Regions from separate parts of the Homo sapiens genome. Here all the other regions are linked to region 2. The links are contacts of gene promoters, found by promoter capture Hi-C in human tissues and cell types (Jung and others, 2019). All regions are on one chromosome and are shown on one strand. The core of a region is centred on a gene start or on the middle of the fragment in contact, and the rest is flanking DNA. Distances in the headings are between cores, read along the strand shown. Region 1 overlaps CCP110 (centriolar coiled-coil protein 110). Region 2 holds the start of THUMPD1 (THUMP domain 1 NAT10 acetyltransferase adaptor). Region 3 overlaps VPS35L (VPS35 endosomal protein sorting factor like).

The links. The method cuts DNA at HindIII sites, captures the fragments that hold promoters and counts their contacts. A contact is called where the count stands out against the background at its distance.
Region 1: a contact is called between a fragment that was not itself captured here and the fragment with the promoter of THUMPD1 in region 2, in 1 of the 25 tissues and cell types used here (dorsolateral prefrontal cortex).
Region 3: a fragment that was not itself captured here is called in contact with the fragment with the promoter of THUMPD1 in region 2 in 1 of the 25 tissues and cell types used here (dorsolateral prefrontal cortex).

What each region holds. Positions count from the first base shown.
Region 1 is chr16:19,533,074-19,536,456 of GRCh38, forward strand. It overlaps CCP110 (centriolar coiled-coil protein 110), which reads left to right. Exons shown (of 14, transcript NM_001323572.2): 4 at 2,867-3,383. Among named protein-coding and RNA genes, the nearest start is that of CCP110, 11 kb to the left of the region's middle. The HindIII fragment of the contact is 3,569 bases long and covers 1-3,081 here.
Region 2 is chr16:20,740,403-20,743,925 of GRCh38, forward strand. THUMPD1 (THUMP domain 1 NAT10 acetyltransferase adaptor) reads right to left here and starts at 1,416. Exons shown (of 4, transcript NM_017736.5): 1 at 1,107-1,416. The coding sequence starts at 1,337. It also overlaps a transcript of ACSM3 not described here. RefSeq lists enhancers at 602-691, 722-861, 1,162-1,211, 1,222-1,491. The HindIII fragment of the contact is 7,218 bases long and covers 1-2,953 here.
Region 3 is chr16:19,569,757-19,573,193 of GRCh38, forward strand. It overlaps VPS35L (VPS35 endosomal protein sorting factor like), which reads left to right. Exons shown (of 31, transcript NM_020314.7): 4 at 3,363-3,437. Among named protein-coding and RNA genes, the nearest start is that of VPS35L, 16 kb to the left of the region's middle. The HindIII fragment of the contact is 3,565 bases long and covers 1-3,321 here.

The sequences.
Region 1 (3,383 bases), core at 47-2,546, 1.2 Mb before region 2:
ACAATTTGTTCTGACATGTGGATCATTTTGTACTAAAAAGAAAAACAAATGAATTAGATTGAACGAATAATTTCTACAACATATAGCAGTGTTCTGCTGGTAACATCTTTTTGTTTTTTCATAATCTTAGGAGTTTGTGGTTTGTCTGTTTAATTCGTATCGATGACACGTGTATAATGAACCTTAAGGGTTCATTTCTCTGTTGGTAGTGTAAACTGAAGAAAATGACTGAGGCAAGTCTCAATCGATTTAGAGGTTTGTTTTGCCAAGGTTGAGGATGTGCCAAGGAAAAAGAGACAAAAGTTACAGTAGAATCTGTGGCTTATGCTTTTCCAGAAGAGGTTTTGAGGACTTCAGTGTATAAAGGGGAGAGAACAGCAGGAGGGGAAAGAGGAAAGAAAAAAAAAGGAGGGTAGGTAATGAGATAAGCGATCACATTTTTGTGAGGCTTTGATTAGCACTCACTGAATCCACAAGTCGCATGAGAAAGGTGGGGGTAGAGGAACAGTCAGTTATGCATTCATCTCAAGCTCAATAAATCTGCATTTTACATAGGATAAAGTAAGCAGAGTAGAGGAAGAAGTCAAATATACATTTGTCTCCAAAGGGATGATTTCTAGTCATCTTTGGTCTTTGTCCGTATCTTGTCAGAGTGAAATTCAGCAGAACTCTGGGTTGGTGTAAAGATTTTGGGGCCTACGAGGAATTTCCTTGTGAGCAATTTGCAAGAGAGTCTACCTGGGTAGATAGGTGGCCTTCTATTTTGCAGCTATCTGTTTAGGAATAAAAGGAAGGCAGTTTTTGTGTGACTCAGTTCCTAAGCTTTACTTTTTCCTTTGACATGTGATTTTCCATTTCAGTTACTCGAAATCCCTATGTAATGAGTCTTCAGAATCTGATGAAAAAGTCAAAGGAATATATAGAAAGAGAACAATCTAGACGCAGGCTGAGAGGTAGTATTAAGAGAATTGTTAATGAGAGTCATAGTGACTCTCATGTGACATAGTTGAGTTTGGGGTCCTGAGATATTATTTCCCTTTCACAGTAGTATATAGTGTGTGGGTAGTAGATTTCATTTTGCAGATTATAATTACTGTCCATATTAAGTTTAAAAAATGTATTGAGTAGCACTAATTTAACAATAAGAGGTAGGTTTTTTACTTACTACGTATTTCCTGTGATTGAAATGAAAATGGCATATCATTCTTGGTCCATTGAGGGAAGATAAAATATACTACTAATAAAATTGTTAAAAGAGCATGTATAATGTTGAACTGTAATGAATTAATTATTCAGATAGGAAAATTTTATATAATACAATTAGATTTCTGCTTCACCTGTAAAACCTAAGATTCTATGATAGATTTTTTTCTTGTTGTTATTTAACTTGTCTAACTAAAGGCTCATTTTAGTGACGTATAAACAACATAGCTTCCGAATATCACAAATGTGAAATATTTTACGTAAGGAAATCATCTGTTTTACTTAAACCTGTGAACATGTTCATGGATTTCATAAATATGCATCCTTTTTGTTTTATTTTGGTCCTGAGGCTGTGACTAAGTATGTCTTGTACTCTTGTACTGTTGATTGCATAGTACCTGGAAACCTTTTTGCATCTTTTTTGTTTTATTTTGGTTCTGAGGTTGTGACTAAGTATGTCTTATTGTACTGTGTATTGCATAGTACCTGGAAACCATTACCTGTCTTGGGATTTGTAACGTAAAATAGGAGAGCCATGTGGTCTAGAAAAAAACAAGCACATTCAAAACAACCAAAAAATATTGTAATATTCAGACTTTTTTTTTTTTTTTTTTTTTTTTCTGAGATGGAGTCGCGCTCTGTCGCCCAGGCCGGAGTGCAGTGACGTGATCTTGGCTCACTGCAAGCTCCGCCTCCCAGATTCATGCCATTCTCTTGCTTCAGCCTCCTGAGTAGCTGGGACTACAGGTGCCCACCACCAAGCCCAGCTAATTTTTTGTATTTTTAGTAGAGATGGAGTTTCACTGTGTTAGCCAGGATGATCTTGATCTCCTGACCTCATGATCCGCCCGCCTCGGCCTCCCAAAGTGCTGGGATTACAGGCGTGAGCCACCATGCCCCGCCAGTAGTCAGGCTTTTGATGTCTGTATTCATATGATAATACAATGATTTTTGCCAGTTTAATATACGGATGTATAATTACCTTTAGAAACTATCCTAGTTCTCTTTTTATTCTTTTGCAAAGTTGGATTATTTAGATACAAAATATCTATTTTTACATTCATTCATTCATTCATTCATTCATTTTTGAGACAAAGTTTAGTTAAACTTTGGAGTAAGCATGTAGGTGCAGGAGTCTTATTACTGAATCATTTTTGCTTAATCAATGTCCTGGACAAGTTAGTCTTTGTTAGAGAGGGAATCGTTTACGTAAGACATTTCATTACTTGCTGTTTATTGCATATATTATTATCCTTGGATGATAGCTATCCTAGGAGGAACAGTTGGTAATGTTAATAACATATGACTAGAAGAAATTTAAGTGCTTGTATTCTAAGATTAAATTGCACATGGATATATGAATATATGTGTGTGTGTATACACATATATATGTTCATATTTGTATCAGATTAGATGTTTCTTTTTATAACTCTTTTATAACTCTTTTAATAACTTAGGCAGGATGACCAGTAGGCATCTTTTCAATAATAATTTGAGCCCCCTGTGATACAGGATACCGTAGAAACCTGTCATCTTAGTTTTTCTTTATGTTTTGAAATGTCAGAATTCTGAATTTTCAATTTCAATTTTATTTTAGAAAACAGTGAAATCAGAGACTTTTTGTGCAATGAGGAAATATTAATTTTTAAATTTCCTGTTTCAGGTTAGAAAAGCACCTAATGCCAGTGATTTTGATCAGTGGGAGATGGAAACAGTTTACTCTAATTCAGAAGTCAGAAACTTGAATGTTCCTGCTACATTTCCAAATAGCTTTCCAAGCCATACGGAACACTCTACTGCAGCAAAGCTTGATAAGATAGCTGGGATTTTGCCATTGGATAATGAGGACCAATGTAAAACTGATGGAATAGACTTAGCTAGAGATTCAGAAGGATTTAATTCTCCGAAGCAATGTGATAGTTCCAATATTAGTCATGTAGAAAATGAAGCTTTTCCAAAGACCTCTTCAGCAACCCCACAAGAAACTCTTATTTCTGATGGTCCCTTCTCAGTAAATGAACAACAGGATCTACCACTTTTGGCAGAAGTCATCCCAGATCCCTATGTAATGAGTCTTCAGAATCTGATGAAAAAGTCAAAGGAATATATAGAAAGAGAACAATCTAGACGCAGTCTGAGAGGTAGTATCAACAGAATTGTTAATGAGAGTCATTTAGACA
Region 2 (3,523 bases), core at 166-2,665:
AAAAGAATTTGCTTAAAGTACAGGAGTAGACAGGATATGTGCTTGTTGCCCAGCTCTCTGCCCCCTAGTGCCCAACGAAATTGCCAGTCAGGCACAATAATAATTGTATACATTTACAGAAACTTTATTACATACCAGTATGTATTTTATGTACATAAGCAACTCACTAGCCAGTCTTAAAGTATTCTCTTTTTTATCTAGCTCAGCAGCATCAAATAATGTGCCCATGTCCGAGTCCCCAAGCTAGTAGAGGATGAGCCGTGAATTTAAATTCCCTCTGTATTACCCTTCTTCATTTAATCCCTCAGTGTGCGTGTGTGTATTGGTCCAGATTCTAAGCCAGTAATATGATTTCCAAACACTAAGACTTTAGGTGATATTGGTAAAAGTTTTTACGTTCTAAAATGTATTTTAAGTGCAGTAACTAGCATTAGTAGTAAACCTATTATTTCAGAAATATTATTGCTTCAGGTAAACACATTATTACTCCAACTTCACGAGGCTGTCATGAAAAATGTGTTTCTGAAAGAGCTTCAGCACACCGCCTGGCCCTCAATGAGCAATCCTTAAGTGGGAGGTAGGCCGGGCTCAGTGGCTCGCGCCTGTAATCTCAGCACCTTGAGAGGCAGAGACGGGAGGATCGCTTGAGTGTAGGGTTTAGGACTACCCTGGGCCAAACAGTGAGACCCCTTATCTACAATTTACAAAACTTAGCCGAGAGTGGTGGCGCGCACTCATAGTCCCAGCTACTCTGGAGGCTGAGACAGGAGAAGTCGAGGCTTCCCTGAGCTATCATCACGCCACTGCACTCCAGCCTCGGCAACAGAGCGAGACCCTGTCTCACAAAAATAAAAATAAAAGTAATGGGAGCTACCGTGGTTACTGATGGCAAGAAAAGGTGCAAGCACTTCAAGCACAAAACCGATAGCACCGAAGTCTGCGAGCGTCTCAGGACTAGGGACGGAAACGCCGGCGAGGCCACGCCCCTACAGCCGTCACGCCGACGACCCGAGGCGCGCATGCCCATACCAGCAGCCATCCCTCCACCCTTCCCTCCTCCCGCAAGGCCTGGCAGCCGGCCCGCCCGCCCACCCCGGGACCGGTACCTTTTCTGGCCCATACATGTCGTCGCCGTATTCGTTGAGGAGGCTGTAGGCCTCCTCCACGCACTTGCGCTCGTTCATATTGCAGGTGATGAGGATGCCCTGTAGCCCGGGCTCTAGCTGACGGGGCCCGCCAGCGTCGCAGCGCCGAGCGCGCTTGGCCAGCACATACTGAGCCTTGCCTTTGCGCTTCCCGCCGCCAGGCTGAGTAGTCTGCTGGGCAGGGGCCGCCATGGTGTGCGCAAACTGAGAGGAAAGAGAAACGTTTCTCCGCTGCTGTTGGCGTCCTCGTCTATCGCCGGCGCGAACTGGTGACGTCGGATATGAGCGACGGCCTCCCCTAGCCGGCCTCGAAGCCTCATTCCGTGCTGCGCCAGGTCCTAAGGCCGGTCTGCAATCGTGAAAGGGGTGGAGTGATACCCGCCCAAGCCCCGCCTCCTGCCCCGCCTCCCGACTGCAACCTGAATCCAGTAGAGGCAGCATAGCAGCCATTCTGGAAGTGGTGTCGGTGGCTCCTCAAGCCCTTGAAGCTGGCTCCAGCCATATAGCTTCTTCCACCCAACCTTGGTACCTGTTCCTCCAGCCTTCCCTATAATTCTGCCAGCTACTGTGGAGGAAAAGTTAAATATTAAATTTGAACTCAATTGAACGTGGACACAATGGTCAAGTCCCGTAACAGGTTGCATGAGCCCCTTGAGGCATTCATTCATCCAGCACTGTTACAGATAACTCTGTACCTGTACTTGAGTTATTGAAAAACAGACAATCACAGAAACAAGTTGACCTTTATGTGTTCCTTGAGCCCAGTCGAGAAGGGCCCTCGTGACTGGGCCTCATGCCAATCAACGCATTACAAAAAGAGCCAGGGTCGGCCGGGCACGGTGGCTCACGCCTGTAATCCCAGCACTTTGGGAGGCCAAGGCAGGCAGATCACGAGGTCAGGAGATGGAGACCATCCTGACCAACATCTCTACTAAAATGCAAAAAATTAGCCAGGCGTGGTGGCGCGCACCTGTAGTCCCAACTACTCGGGAGGCTGAGGCAGGGGAATCACTCGAACTCGGGAAGCGGCGGTTGCAGTAAGCCGAGATCGTGCCATTGCACTCCAGCCTGGCAACAAAGCGAGGCTCTGTCTCAAAAAAAAAAAAAAAATGAGCCAGGGTCCCAGGCCACACGGAAGCTTCTTGAGACCCCTCCTCCTCTGTGCACGGACAAGTGGCTGACTCTGGAGCCCAGGCTGTTGCTTCCCGGTCTGGTGATGAATCCAACATAGTCTGGTGCGTGTAAATATATATATATATATATATATTTTTTTTTTTTCCCTTCTCCCCTTCCCATTGCAATTTGCTTACTATATCATTTGCTTATTATATCTGCATTGCCATTTACGTGGGATAAAGGTTGTTTACCCCCAAAGGTATTGTATGTTTGTCTATTTTTTTTTTTTTTTTTTGAGATGGAGTCTCGCTCTGTCGCCCAGGCTGGAGTGCAGTGGTGCGATCTGGGCTCACTGCAAGCTCCGCCTCCCAGGTTCACCCCATTCTCCTGCCTCCCTCCCGAGTAGCTGGGACTACAGGCGCCCGCCACCACGCCCGGCTAATATTTTTTATTTTTAGTAGAGACGGGGTTTTACCGTGTCAGTCAGGATGGTCTCAATCTCCTGACCTCGTGATCCACCCGCCTCGGCCTCCCAAAGTGCTGAGATTACAGGCGTGAGCCACCGCGCCTGGCCGTATTTTGTCTTGTTTTTTCCCCTCGCGCATTTCCCACATAGAACAGTTACTCAAAAGGCTTCCAGTAAATTCCATTTCAGCCTCAATTTTCCAGGCTATGTTTCTATTTCACTTAAAACCAAGGATGTTGGCTGGTGTTGTTTCATGCTGCTTTCGTTGCGGCCTTTTATCCATAGTCTTGGCAACTTATCATGTTACTGTCTTTTTAAAAATCATTGAAGATGCCACTTTTGAAGAATGTGTTTAAAAAACAAGTGCTTCTCATACTACTCTTCAGGTACAAACCTCTTAGCAGATTTGAGTTCCTACAAAGCCCTAAAAGATGTAATCTGATATTTTGAAAGGGACACCGAATTCACAGTCAATAAACCCTAGGTTCTAACCCCAGATCTACCACTATGTCCAAAAATTTTATCATCTTATTGTTTGCTTTTACCTGTGTATTCAATACAGCATTTAATTTTCAGAATTTCTTTGGTGGACACTGCACAGCAGAGATTTCTAGAAGTCCTCAGTTGTTTGTGAAGAGCAGTGTCATGACACTGGCATTGGCCTTCCCCCAAATCTCTCTCTCTTCTGCTGGCTGGGTTTCAGTTGCCCACACTCTGCCACCTGTCCTTAGGATATCAAATATTAGCATACAGATAACAAGTTAAAATATATATATTTCAAGTCCCAAGCATATTT
Region 3 (3,437 bases), core at 289-2,788, 1.2 Mb before region 2:
CTCCGGGGCTCAAGCAATTCTCCCACCTCACCCTCCTGAATAGCTGGGATTATAGGTACACACTACTGTGCCGGGTTAATTTTTTATTTTGTTGTAGAGGTGGGGTCTTGCTGTGTTGCCCAGGGTGGTCTTGTACTCCAAGCCTCAAGCGATCCTCCCACCTGAGCCTCCTAAAGCTTCTTCCCCTTTTTTAAGTTGCACAAGTAATGCACACGGTACCTTCTGGTCAGGTCATCCTGACATGAGAGGCTGGTGTAGCTCTGTGAAGTCTTTTTGTTTTTTTGTTTGAAAGCATTTTAAAATTTATTTTTATTTTTTAATTTAATATTTTTTTCAGACAGCCTTGCTGTGTCACCCAAACTGGAGTGCAGTGGTGCAATCTCACTGCAGCCTCCGACTCCGGGTTCAAGCAATTCTCTCACCTCAGCCTGCCAAATTGCTGGGACAGGCATGCACCACCATGCCCAGCTAATTTTTGTGTTTTTTGGTAGAGATGGGCTTTCATCATGTTGACCAGGCTGGTCTTGAACTCTTGACCTCAAGTGATCCACCTGCCTCAACCTCCCAAAGCACTGGGATTACAGGCGTGAGCCACTGCACCTGGCTCTTAAAATTTATTTTTAATTTTAATTTTATTCTTCTTATAAATCTTTTTACATAATACATAAGTAAATCACTCATTTTGATGTGAAAAAGTCAGACACTACAGATAAAGTCATGTAGAGCAATCCTCATTCCAATCTCCACCCTGGCGGTTGTGAGAATGATGGCTGTAATGTGTCTTCTTCCATAGCTTTTCCCCTGTATTTTCATAGATACTTGCGATAGCAGTTTCTGAGCATTCCCATACGTACTCATATATAAATAATTACAGCATCAACTTACTGCATGGCAGGCATTTTTCCGGAGTGCGTTTTGTATTTGGTTCTCTTACTACCTTGTGAGAGGTATTGGAATCCTCATTAAAGAGGCAGCCATGGAGGGATAGAGATAACAAGTCACATCCAAGCTGGGATTCAAACCTGGCCAGTCTGACTTCAGAATACATGCTCTCGATCATCATCCTATGCTGTGTTTCATATATATATATATATATATATATATATATATATATATATATATATATATATATATTTTTGAGATGAAGTCTCACACTGTCACCCGGGCCGGTGTGAAGTGGGGTGATCTCGACTCGCAGCCTCCACCTCCCAGGTTCAAGCGATTCTCCTGCCTCAGCCTTCCGAGTGGCTGGGACTACAGGCACGTGCCACCATGCCCAGCTAATTTTTGTATTTTAGTAGAGACGGGGTTTCACTATATTGGCCAGGCTGGTCTCGAACGCCTGACCTCGTGATCCACCCACCTCGGCCTCCCAAAGTGCTGCAATTACAGGCGTAAGCCACTGTGCCCGGCCTGTGTTTCATATATTATTTACCATTGTTACATAAATGGAACTGCTGTTTTGTGACTTGTTTTTTTGGAGATAGTCTTGCTCTTTTGCCTAGGCTGGACTGCAGTGGCATGATCATAGCTCGCTGCAGCCTTAAAGTCCTGGGCTCGAACAATCCCCCTGCCTCAGCCTCTCGAGCAGCTGGGACTTCAGGTGTGTGCCACCGCACTCAGCTAATTTTGGATTTTTTGGTAGAGTTGGGGTCTCACTGTGTTGCCAAAGCTGGTCTCAAACTCCTGGGCACAAGCAATCCTCCTGCCTTGGCCTACCAGAGTTGCTGGGATTACAGGCCTGAGCCACTGCACCCCACAACTTTTTTTTTTAATTTATTTTATTTTATTTTATTTTATTTTTTTGAGACGGAGTCTCATTCTGTTGCCCAGGCTGGAGTGCAGTGGCGCGATCTTGGCTCACTGTGACCTCTGTCTCCTGGGTTCAAGTGATTCTCCTGCCTCAGCCTACCTAGTAGCTGGGATTACAGGCATGTGCCACCACACCTGGCTAATTTTTGTATTTTTTGTAGAGACAAGGTTTCGTCACATTGGCCAGGCTGGTCTCGAACTCCTAACCTCAGGTGATCTGCCCACATTGGCCTCCCAAAGTGCTGGGATTACAAGTTTGAGCCATGCCGCCCAGCCAACTTTTTTTTTTTTTTTAACTTGACCATATGTCTTGGAGAACTATCCATGTTAGTACATTTAGAACAACCTTATTATTTTGACCAGCCGTATGGTATTCTAAAGACTGGATTTACCTATTTTAATTTACCATTCCTCTACTGATGTATCCATCAGATGGAGGATATCCCAGATAGTTTCTGGGTTTTGCTGGTACAAACAGCAGTGCAGCATGTGTCTCGAACACACACACATCTTGGTGCATGTCTGCAAGGATTTCTGCAGGATAGCTTCCTAGAAGTTCTTTGCTGGTTGGCCAGGCGCAGTGGGTCACGCCTGTAATCCCAGCACTTTGGAAGGCTGAGGCGGGCGGATCATGAGGTCAGGAATTCGAGACCAGCCGGACCAACGTGGTGAAACACCATCTCTACTAAAAATACAAAAATTAGCCAGGTGTGGTGGCGGGCACCTGTAATCCCAGCTACTCGGGAGGCTGAGACAGGAGAATCACTTGAACCTGGGATGCGGAGATTGCAGTGAGTAGAGATCACGTCACTGCACTCCAGCCTGGGCAACAGAGCGAGACTCCATCTCTTTGCTGGCATAAGGCAATGTGTATTTAAGGTTTTGATGGCTATCACCAAATTGTCCTCCAAAAAGAGTTAACCAGTCTGCATTTCCACCAGTGATGTTGAAGAGGGTCTGTTTCCCTGCATCCTTGCCAGCCTGACATCAGCCAGCATTTTAACTCTTTGACATTCTGATAGTTGAAAAAGTGGTCTTTTCCAACTATCCTTTCCTTAATTCTTAATGAGTTTGAGCATTTTTTGATATGTTTATTGTCCATTTATGATGAAATGGTCTGAATTTTTTTTTTGAGATGGAGTCTTGCTCTGTCACTCAGACTGGAGTGCAGTGGTACAATCTTGGCTTACTGCAACCTCTGCCTTCCAGGTTCAAGCGATTGTCCTGCCTCAGCCTCCTGAGTAGCTGGGACTACAGGCATGCACCTGGCTAATTTTTGTATTTTTAGTAGAGATGGGGTTTTACCATGTTGGCTAGGCTGGTGTTAAACCCCCGCCCTTAAGTGATCCGTCCACCTTGGCCTCCCAAAGTGCTGGGATTACAGGCGTGAGGCACCATGCCTGGCGCTGTAATTTTTTTTATGATAGTAAACCTTGAGACAAATCTCTTTTATTCCACAGTAAAGGACTATCTGGCTTCTATTTATATATGTATATATTTAAAGATCAAAATGATATTGCTGCTGAAGAGATTATCTTGCCTTTCTTTAGGACAGCTCCAGAAGGAAACGTGATAGAGATGATAACTCCGTTGTAGGATCGGATTTTGAGCCTTGGACCAACAAA